Linked DNA regions of Homo sapiens: regions 1 and 2 are each linked to region 3. The links are contacts of gene promoters, found by promoter capture Hi-C in blood cells and fetal thymus (Javierre and others, 2016). All regions are on one chromosome and are shown on one strand. Each heading gives the region's core, a stretch centred on a gene start or on the middle of the fragment in contact. The rest is flanking DNA. Distances are from core to core; before and after follow the strand shown. Region 1 holds the start of TINF2 (TERF1 interacting nuclear factor 2). Region 2 overlaps NYNRIN (NYN domain and retroviral integrase containing). Region 3 holds the start of CIDEB (cell death inducing DFFA like effector b).

What was found. The method cuts DNA at HindIII sites, captures the fragments that hold promoters and counts their contacts. A CHiCAGO score of 5 or more calls a contact.
Region 1: the fragment with the promoter of TINF2 here is called in contact with the fragment with the promoter of CIDEB in region 3 in 7 of 17 cell types (total CD8 T cells, neutrophils, naive CD4 T cells and 4 more); the score reaches 7.3 in total CD8 T cells.
Region 2: a fragment that was not itself captured here is called in contact with the fragment with the promoter of CIDEB in region 3 in 5 of 17 cell types (naive CD8 T cells, erythroblasts, total CD4 T cells and 2 more); the score reaches 7.0 in naive CD8 T cells.

What each region holds. Positions count from the first base shown.
Region 1 is chr14:24,241,373-24,244,822 of GRCh38, reverse strand. It overlaps TINF2 (TERF1 interacting nuclear factor 2), which reads left to right and starts at 2,200. Exons shown (of 9, transcript NM_001099274.3): 1 at 2,200-2,682; 2 at 2,829-2,933; 3 at 3,047-3,148. The coding sequence starts at 2,491. RefSeq lists a silencer at 1,266-1,560 and enhancers at 1,752-2,051, 2,222-2,481, 2,552-2,771, 3,432-3,450. The HindIII fragment of the contact is 13,864 bases long and covers 1-3,450 here.
Region 2 is chr14:24,400,545-24,403,855 of GRCh38, reverse strand. The region is part of intron 2 of NYNRIN (NYN domain and retroviral integrase containing); the gene reads right to left. Among named protein-coding and RNA genes, the nearest start is that of NYNRIN, 3.2 kb to the right of the region's middle. The HindIII fragment of the contact is 4,166 bases long and covers 1-3,311 here.
Region 3 is chr14:24,306,643-24,310,081 of GRCh38, reverse strand. CIDEB (cell death inducing DFFA like effector b) reads left to right here and starts at 2,105. Exons shown (of 5, transcript NM_001393339.1): 1 at 2,105-2,264; 2 at 2,567-2,711. The coding sequence starts at 2,224. It overlaps NOP9 (NOP9 nucleolar protein), which reads right to left. Exons shown (of 10, transcript NM_174913.3): 10 at 958-3,439. The HindIII fragment of the contact is 15,090 bases long and covers 1-3,439 here.

The sequences.
Region 1 (3,450 bases), core at 951-3,450, 65 kb after region 3:
GTGATCCTCCCACTTCAGCCTCCCAAAGTTCTGGGATTACAGGCATGAGCCACCACACCCACCAAAAAAGATTTTTTAAAAAATTAGCCAGGGACTGCGTGCAGTGGCTCACGCCTGCGATCCCAACACTTTCGGAAGCCGAGGTGGGAAGATCGCTTGAGTCCAGGAATTCGAGACCAGCCTGGGCAACAAAGACTTGTCTCTACAAAAAATAGAAAAAAATGAGCCAGGCATGGTGGTGCATGCCTGTAGCCCCAGTTACTTTGGAGGCTGAGGCAGGAGGATCACTTAAGCCCAGGAGGCAGAGGTTGCAGTGAGCCAAGATCACTGCACTCCACCCTGAGCAACAGAGCGAGACTGTCTCCCCACCTCAAAAAAAAAAAAAGAGCCGAGCGCGGTGGCTCACGCCTTGTAATCCCAGCACTTTGGGAGGCCGAGGCGAGCGGATCACGAGGTCAGGAGATCCAGACCACGGTGAAACCCCGTCTCTACTAAAAATACAAAAAAGCCGGGCGCGGTGGTGGGCGCCTGTAGTCCCAGCTACTCGGGAGGCTGAGGCAGGAGAATGGCGTGAACCCAGGAGGCGGAGCTTGCAGTGAGCTGAGATCGCGCCACTGCACTTCAGCCTGGGCGACAGAGCGAGACTCCGTCTCAAAAAAAAAAAAAAGTAAAACAACAGAAGTTCATATCTACATAAGAAAGAAAGAACATTAGAGAAGGAATAAATAAAGGGAAAAAGGAAGATAACTAGAATTTCACACATATCCAATTTGGGGTACTTTGGGACTGGGTGTTTCTTGGGCAGTCGAATGTGCGGATCAGCTGAGACTGATCCGGGGCGGAGACAAGGATGTGTGAACCATTATCTCTGGGAATGGAAGACATGGGCTAAAGACGGAGCAGTTTCACTAAATCCTTGTAAGGTGGTCAAGGCAGGCAACTAATCCAGCCAACAATTAAGGAGTGTAAGCTGTGTGTTAGGTTCTGTGCTTGCTGATGGAAATGAGAGGCACCAGGAAGCCTGTGGAAGAGACAGTCAAGGAGAGCAGTCAATTACATTAGGGGGCTGACAAGTTCAGTGCACAACAGAATCCTAAAACAAGAAACTAATTTGTGTGTGTGTGTGAGACCCCGTCTCACTCTATCACTCAGGCTGGAGTGCAGTCACTGAAGCCTCAACCTCCCTGGCTCAAACAATCCTCCCAACTCAGCCTCCTGAGTAGCTGGGACTACAGGCGTGCCACTACGCCCGGCTAGTTTTTTTGATTTTCAGTAGAGACAGGTTATCGCCATGTGATCCAGTCTGGTCTGGAACTCCTGGGCTCAAGCGGATCGATCCTCCCCTCTCGGCCTCTCAGAGTGCTGGGATTACAGGTGTGAGTCACCGTGCCCCCAGCCTGTATTCTATTTCTTCTTCTTCCTCTTTTTTTTTTTTTTTTTTTCTTTGAGAGAGATTCTCCCTCTGTCGCCCAGGCTGGAATGCAGAGGCAAGATCGCGGCTCACTGCCACCTCCCGTCTACTGGGTTCAAGCGATTCTCCTGCCTCGGCCTCCCGAGTAGCTGGGATTACAGGCGCCTGCCACCACGCCCAGCTAATTTTTGTACTTTTAGCAGAGAAGGGGTTTCACCATGTCGCCCAGGCTTGTCTGGAGCTCCTGGGCTCAAGTGACCCTCCTGCCTCGGCCTCTCAAAGCGCTGGGATTAGACACAAGCCACCACGCCCAGCCTGTATTTTATTTTTTAAGGGCGGGCGCCCTCTTCTGTTTTATAAAAGGAACAGTCGAATTCCTACTGGAAGCGACGCGCGCAGAGGGGAAGGCTTTGTAGACGCCGGCTCGGGTCTGGAATTTAAAGAACTAAATTTCGATGGGTGAAGACAGTGGGAAAGGGCGGTGGCATGATCCTCGTTTTACAGACTAGGAAGTCGAGCCTCACGGGAGTGACGGGGCTTCTCCGCAGGCTCCGCGAAGAAAGCAAGGCTGGGAGGACCCAGACGAACGGCCACAACAGCCTCAGCGGCCACGACAGCCTCAGCCGCCAACTCATGTCAGCCGGCAGAGAGTGCAGGAAGCGGGCAGCTACAGCTCCGCTGGGGCGTGGCCTTCTGACGCACCGTCACGGTTCCCTCTGTGGCCGCCCATTGGCTCCCTCTTACCGCCCTTTTCCGGGGCAAGGGAAGCTAGTAGCGGAGCCGGAAGTGAGGCACCCTCGGGCTCGAGACAGCGGCGACGTTTAAAGCTGAGCGACCCAGTGCCACTGGAGACGGTCAGCTTCTCCACTCAGGCTCCTCCAGCCCGAGCCAGAAGACCCCCTCCCCCAGAATTCTGGGGGCCGATGGAAGGGAGCCGAGTCAGATCGCGAGGTACCCAGAGCCGACAGACCGGAGCGACAGGGAGTTGCCAGAAGCCCCGCCCCTAGGAGTGATCGGAAAGCCTCACCCATCCGGGTGAGGAACCCGGAGGGACCGCCTCCGGGCGGAGCCCGCCGACCATGGCTACGCCCCTGGTGGCGGGTCCCGCAGCTCTACGCTTCGCCGCCGCGGCTAGCTGGCAGGTTGTGCGCGGACGCTGCGTGGAACATTTTCCGCGAGTACTGGAGTTTCTGCGATCTCTGCGCGCTGTTGCCCCTGGCTTGGTTCGCTACCGGCACCACGAACGCCTTTGTATGGGCCTAAAGGCCAAGGTATTGGAGCAAGTAGGACCTGGAAGGGGAAAGAAAGAAAGGGGCGGGATGCGAGCACCTGACAAGGGCCCACAGCTTGGGGATGAGACTAGTTGGAAAAGGTCAGCTTGCCCCGAAGTGGGGATTCTGAATTCAGTACCGTACAGGTGGTGGTGGAGCTGATCCTGCAGGGCCGGCCTTGGGCCCAAGTCCTGAAAGCCCTGAATCACCACTTTCCAGAATCTGGACCTATAGTGCGGGATCCCAAGGCTGTGAGTAATCCCCGGAACAAGCCCTGACCCCAGTTACACTTGGTGCAGCAAAGTTGCTCCTCCTGTCTACTGGATGTTGGTGCTAACTTCTCTGTCTTCTGTATCCTCAACAGACAAAGCAGGATCTGAGGAAGATTTTGGAGGCACAGGAAACTTTTTACCAGCAGGTGAAGCAGCTGTCAGAGGCTCCTGTGGATTTGGCCTCGAAGCTGCAGGTGAGACTGGTTTGAAGGCTATTATGTGGCTATTTTCTCTAACCCATTTTTTTTTTTTTTTGAGGAATCTTGCTCTGTCGCCCAGGCTGGAGTGCAGTGGCACAATCTCGGCTCACTGCAACCTCTGCCTCCCGGGTTCAAGCGATTCTCCTGCCTCAGCCTCCCGAGTAGCTGGGATTACAAATGCCCAGCTAATTTTTGTATTTTAGTAGAGATGGGGTTTCACCATGTTGGCCAGGCTGGTCTCGAACTCCTGACCTCAAGTGATCCGCCCACCTCGGCCTCCCAAATGGCCAGGATTA
Region 2 (3,311 bases), core at 232-2,731, 94 kb before region 3:
TCAATCAAATATCCTTTGGCTATGCAACGTGGACATGCAACCTCAGCATTTTTCCTCCTGTAAAACTTTTCCCGGGAAGCCACTGGAGAGCAGTTTTCCAGCAAACCAAGTAAGAAAGAAGCAAAGACCATCTCCAGGATGACGGTGAAGAGAAATCTCAGAATTTATTCATCCATTCGACAAATAATTCTTGACTACATGCCAGGCACTGTTTTAGGGTGACAATGGTCATTACACAGGACAGCTAGTTCAGATTGGAGGGTATGACTCAAGAGACAGGCATGTTGAAAGCAGGCATCTGCATACACTTTGCTGCTGCACCATCTTTTTAACTTGAGGCTACAGAGGGATGTGTTCCATCAACCCAAGAAAGAAAAAGTTTCAAGGTCCAGGACATGAGTATCTAGCAAAGAAAAAAGGCAAAGGATGCCAAGAACGACAGCTGTGTCAGCCTGGAAAGCAACTGACCAGACAGGAGAGACGGCGCCAAGAAAAAATTTAGAACCAAAAGAACACCTTGAACTGATAGACTGACCTTGTAGAAAACTGTACTGAGAGGCTACTGGAAGTGGTAAGAATTAACAATAGGTACAAAGAAAGGCAAATTGAAAAACAAGGAGTGCTTAACCTCAATGACCTCAGTAAAACCCAAAAAGTAAGAAAGAAAACAAAATCATAGTACACTTCAGTGCTTCGATGTGAACGCTATGTGCAAGGCATAATGAGGCAATGCTAAACGTAGATTTAGCAGGTAATTGAAACAGAACTATCTTGAGAAGAGGGGCTGGCCGTGAAAGGGAGCTCAATCCTCACATACGATAATGGGACCAAAAAAAGATAGCAGCAAACGTCAATTAATTAAAAGACAATAGTGTCTACATATTCTTTTAGAAATGTGGAGATGCGTAAATGCCAGAGCAAATACTGTCAGTGGGGATGGTTACTGAAGGAGGAATTGGGAGGGCCGGGGCAGGGAACCTCTGTGTGCTCTTCTAAGCCTTTTGGTAAAATTGGACTTTTCAAATGTGTATTACTTTGATAAAAGAAAATTTAAGTTTAAAGAAAAAGAAGTATTCAGTGCCCACAACACAAGCAGGTGTCCTGGTAAATGTTTAACAATCAGCTGGGGGTGGGGGGTAACCTTGATTTGTCGCATTTGCCAATTTCTGTGGCATAAATACTCCCACCATGGCTGTAAATACTCCTCCACTCACTTGCACAATTCCCGAAATTTTAACAGTGGGTCCATAGGAGCCAACTCCAGGCACTGACCGCAACCAACTCTCAGGGTACTGCTCACAGTTAGTGTGCAGCAAAGATAGTTCAACTTCCATCTGACAGCCAAGCCAGATGTCAGCAGGCCACACCCTGTCCCAGAGCTCCAGAACCCAGTCTCCAGAAGGTACTCTTGCCCACCACCACTGCCTTTAGGCTCCCCATCACCTCCCGCAGTGGTCACCTCTCTTCTCTGCCGCCCACCCCATCCTCACCTCACTGCCAAAGGGGAGAAGGGTGGAGCAGGGCTTGTCCCGGGCCTCTTCTGATCATTACTAAAACCCGCCTCTCCACTCACTGATTTCACCTCAGAGAGGCCTCCCCAGTGTTTGTTTTGCTGCCTGGGTATGTGTTTCACAGTAATGTCTTCAGTGTTCTTTAATCCCACCACAACAAAACAATTTTAAAGCACTCAAGATTTACAGAGATTTTCCTGAGAAACCAACCACATAGAAACACACTCAGGCCCTTCTCTAGATGAGCCTGTATCCTTCTCGACCCCTCCTCCCCTCAGACCCCAACAAGCCACCCTCACCATCAGCCCTCCCCCAGTCCTGCAACCTGTAGTCTCCCAGAGTCCTCTCTGCCTGTTGGCCTATGTTCAGTATGCCACTAACAAAGTGCATGATTCTGTGTCCCTACAGCTGAGATTGGGGCCAGCCACGCTGCCTCCCTATGAGAACCACAAGACATCCTTACACTTGGGAAATGTTCATGTGTCAGATCGCTGGACCTCAGACAGCATTTAATCCAAGACTTCCACTTTACAAACAGGGAGATCGAGACTCAGAGAGGGAAAAGGACTTGCTCAAAGTTACGCAGCTAGTCAAAAACAATAGTAGCTAACATCTATACTCTATAGCTCTCCACATTTTATAACAGTATTGTAACATGCATGATTTCAGCAGACTCTCACAAACTCTTCATGAACCAGGTATTATTATAGTCTGTTCCATAGATGAGGGAAATGGCTCAAGAGAGGATAAATTATTTGATCTGATCACCCAGTTCAGATAGTTAACAGGTAGCAAACCCCAGTCTCAAACTCTCCTCACCATACCCCTCCTATCTTGGTTGTAACTTGGTGACAGCATATCAAACCCAGATCCCCTAACCCCTGAGACAAAACTTTAACCCCCCCCGCCCCTCACCTTCCCTGTCCTCCTTCTCCAAATTGCCAACAAAGTCTCCTTTATGGTCATTGTGTAAAATAAGGCAGGGAGCTACCCAGAATCCCCTCACGCTGGGTTCCCACTTTTCAACAATGCCTTTCCCAAAGGGAAGACAAAGGGGGAGTGGAGGAACAGGGCTAGGAATCAAGGGAGCCACTGATTCCATTAGCTGGGCCTACAGTGGGAGCCTGAGGTGTGAGATCTGCGGTCCGAAGAACCCTGAAGCAGCAGAGGGAGACGGAGCAGGTAGGCCTGGAGAAGCCAATCCAGGATTTGAGCAAGGAGGGGGTGGCGGGGGTACCTCCGAAAGTGTGAGTCCTGGCCCGGCACAGTGGTTCATGCCTGTAATCCCAGCACTTTGGGAGGCCAAGGCGGGTGGATCACCTGAGGCCAGGAGTTCAAGACCAACCTGGCCAACATGGTGAAACCTCATCTCTACTAAAATACAAAAATTAGCTGGGCATGGTGGCACGTGCCTGTAATCCCAGCTACTCAGAAGGCTGAGGCAGGAGAATCACTTGAACACAAGAGGCAGAGGTGGAGGCTGCAGTGAGCCAAGACCACGCCATTGCACTCCAGCCTGGGCAACAGAGTGAAACTTCATCTCAAAAAAAAAAAAAAAAGAAAAAGAAAGTGTGAGTCCCCTAAGAGGGTGAGCTGCTGCCTTTCAAAGTAACAAAAAGATTAAGAACCCAAAGAACCCAAAACACTCCTCTTGTTAGCCTACCCTACCCCGGCTTCTAAATGTCTTCCTCTCAAGGCCTCCAGTACATATGTTCTTTGGGAAGACACCCCTTCCCCCTCCTAGCACCTCTGTCAAAATTGGAAAAACTGCTGACCTAGCAGCTCCACAGAGGGGTTGAG
Region 3 (3,439 bases), core at 856-3,355:
CTCCTTCCCATCACCAACGCACCCAGGCGTCCAGGCATGTGAGAGCCTGCCTTGCCAGGAAACAGCACAAGCTGAAGTGGGGCAGTAAGATTCCCTGGTGGTGGAAGGAAATAGGAGGACTCTGCTGAATCCTGGTCCTGCTTCTGTTCTCATCCCTCCCCCAGCTCTGGCCCCAATCCTCCCAGCCCACCTTCTGCAGTGTGTATGTTGCCTGGTCTCTCTGGCCTGCAGAGGTGACCCAAACAACTCAGTCCCCCACCTGCCTTATCCTTGCCTGTTTCCAGTCTCCTGGTCCGGCTGAGCCCCTGGCCTCCTACCTCCTCCCACCTCTTGCCTCAGGCCCTGCCCCAGTCACTCCACCCTCAGGGCTCTCACCGGGCTGTCAATGACAGCTTTTCCATGTAAGGCATGGTGCTAGGTTCCAGGAGGAACAGGGGATGCATGGAGGCATAATGGTTAGGGAGTCATGACACACAACCATGAAGAGGCCCCATTACCAGGCTGCACCAGGATACAAGACAAGAAAGGAAAGGATGAGTAGGGACATACTAAGAAGCAGCCCTCTCCTCTTGGAAAAGTCAAGCAAAACTTGGAAATGAAGAGATTTGAGGGGGGCCTGGCAGATGGATAGAGCTGGGGGAAGGGAAAAGAAAGGCCTCTGCTCAAGTAACAGCCAGAACTTGAGGTTGCTTGGGGAGGGCACCAGGAGCACTGTCTTAGTTTGGGTTCTTCCAAAGCAGAGCTTGAGCTAAGGGCTTGGGTACAGGTGATCCTGTATTCTTGAGCTAAGGGCTTGGGTACAGGTGATCCTGTATTTGGGAGGTTAACTCAGGAAGTGAGGGCATAAGGTAAAACAAGAGAGAGGAAAGCCATTAAGAGTATGTTAAGTCCCTTCAGTAGGCCTTGGGAACCTCTGAGAAAAGTATAGATTGCCCAAGACAAAAGACTGGCAGGGTGATCAGTCCAAAGCATTTATTAGGAGAATGTACTTAATGAGTGGGCTACAGCGTATCCTCACAACAGACAGTGAGAGAGAGTTGTTCTACCTGGGTATATCCAAAACAAGGGGGTCAGGGTATGGAGTTTACGAGGGTTCAAGGTATTTGGTTCAGGGCCAGGGCCAGTTTTTTTCAGTGTTTTGGGCAACAACCTGAATACCTTTTCAAGGCTCTGGCTTGGGCTCAAGCCTGCAGGGGAAATGCAACTGGCCAGGTCACAGGGCAATCAAGTTACTCTGTGTTTCTTTGTCAGGACACAGAAAAAAAGTGGGGAAGCTGGGGGACCCTACAAGGATCCTTGGCAGGAAAGCAGGGATTGTGTTCATTTGAGGGTTTCACTGTCAGTGAGAGTCTCAGCTTCCATGCAACTGTCCATCACGGCTGCAACTGAAATCAGAGCTGGGACACAGCGCACCAGAAGCTAAAGTCTTGATGCCATCAAAGGACATCCCTGCCCCATTCACATCTCTGTCACGTCCACTAATCGGCAAAAGGAGAAAAGTGAGAGAAGATGACCTAAGTGTGACTGCAGCAGGCAGCTCTGGAAAATGAAGCCAGAGCAGTGAGCCAGCCCCTCCTCCGACCAAGGAGGAAGGAAAGAGCAGGTAAGCAGGAAGGCCAGTGTCCCAGACAGGACCCTAATGATCCTGAATCCATGTATCAGGATCCATCCTCTCCTTACACCCTTCCTGGACACAGTCTCACCTCTCATTTTCCAAAGCCCTGCCATGCTGCCATCCCACTTCCCCACACTCTGCCCCGGGTTCCCTTTTCCTAAAGCTGCAGCTTATGGCTTCTCCAGTAGGTGGCAGCACACACAGAGCCACTCATAAACTGCAGCTTCTCAGAGCCTGAGAGCCAGAAACCGTCCCCAGAAATTCCCTCCATAGAAATAAAAAAACACCAGAAGTCACATTTCATCCTTTTACATGGTTCCCATCTACCCTCACAACACATGTCATCACCAAAGACACACATACAAGCTCCAATGGCTTTTGCCAGGCAATTCTTCCTCCAGGACCCCATCTGGCCCCTCCCTCATCCCTCCCCTTGGACTTTGCCCTTCTTACTGGCCAGGCAGGGGGGCCAGAGTCCAGGCTTGACTCATTCCCACCTTGTCCTGGGCTGAGATCCCAGGTTTGTAACAGAAAACACCACTAAAGCCCCAGCACAGGAGAGAACCACCCAGCCCAGAAGTTCCAGGGAAGGAACTCTCCGGTCCACCATGGAGTACCTCTCAGCTCTGAACCCCAGTGACTTACTCAGGTGACTGCTAACCCTCCGCTCTACCCTCCACCTTTAGGGGATATAGGCAGGGCAACAATACTCCACTCAGCCCCTAGGAGACTAACCAGTACCCCTTCCTCTCCTGCTCCCCACTCCACAGTGGGCTTGTCAAGCTCCTGAGCCACCCGCCCCCACCTGCACTCCATGGTCTCTCCCTCATCCCTAATCGATAAACCTAGATCTCTCCCTCCCTAGCCCTCTAGCCACTCTACCCTCATCATGCCCTTTACACTCACCAAGCCCCTCCTCGCCCCTTCTTGACTTTTCTTCTCAACTACCAGGTCAGTATCTAATATAAGCTCGGAGTTTGGACGGAGGGTCTGGACCTCAGCTCCACCACCCCAGCGACCTTTCCGTGTCTGTGATCACAAGCGGACCATCCGGAAAGGCCTGACAGCTGCCACCCGCCAGGAGCTGCTAGCCAAAGTAAGTAGGCCAAGTTCCTCGGTTCCTATAGCAGGGGTAGCCAAGGGGCTCCACAACAGTGGCAACTTGTGATGATGGAGCAGAGGGCTGAAGTCACACAGCTGCCCCTCCCTCTGAGGGCTAAAAGCAGCGGAGTGGGCCTAATGAGCTCTGGTCAATTTGTTCATTTTCCACCGAGTGAGCTTTTCTATGGGAGCAGGGGTTAGCAGGAGATAGGGAGAGTTCGAGGGACAGAATTCAGAAGCTAGTATGGAAAGGTGATTTGTGTGACAAATCAAGTTCAAATTCTGATTCTGCCACTTCCTGCCTGTCAAACCTTGGGAAGTTGTTCAACCTACCAAAACCTCAGTTTCTTCAACTATAAAAAGGCAATAATAATACATCACCTCCTAGGGTTGTTGAAAGGAGTAAGAGGATAATGTAGGTAAAGTCCTCATACCTGGCACAGAGTAAGGACTCAAAAAGGTTAAACACTATTACTGAAAACACTTCTGGAGAACTCTTGAGGGTGTGGGAAGTGAGGTGCAGCATTGTAGATAAGACAGAAGGGTGGACTTCGTGAGAACCTGGCTTGCTTTCCAATTCCAAACCAGAAGTGACTTGGAGGGGAGCAAGGGGAGATGCCAATGACATGGTAGGAGCAAAGAGGAAAAAGGTCAGCCTCTAGCTAGGATCCCCCAAAAACTGAAGAACACGGAGAGCTGCAACCTTTAGGAGGTATCAAAGTG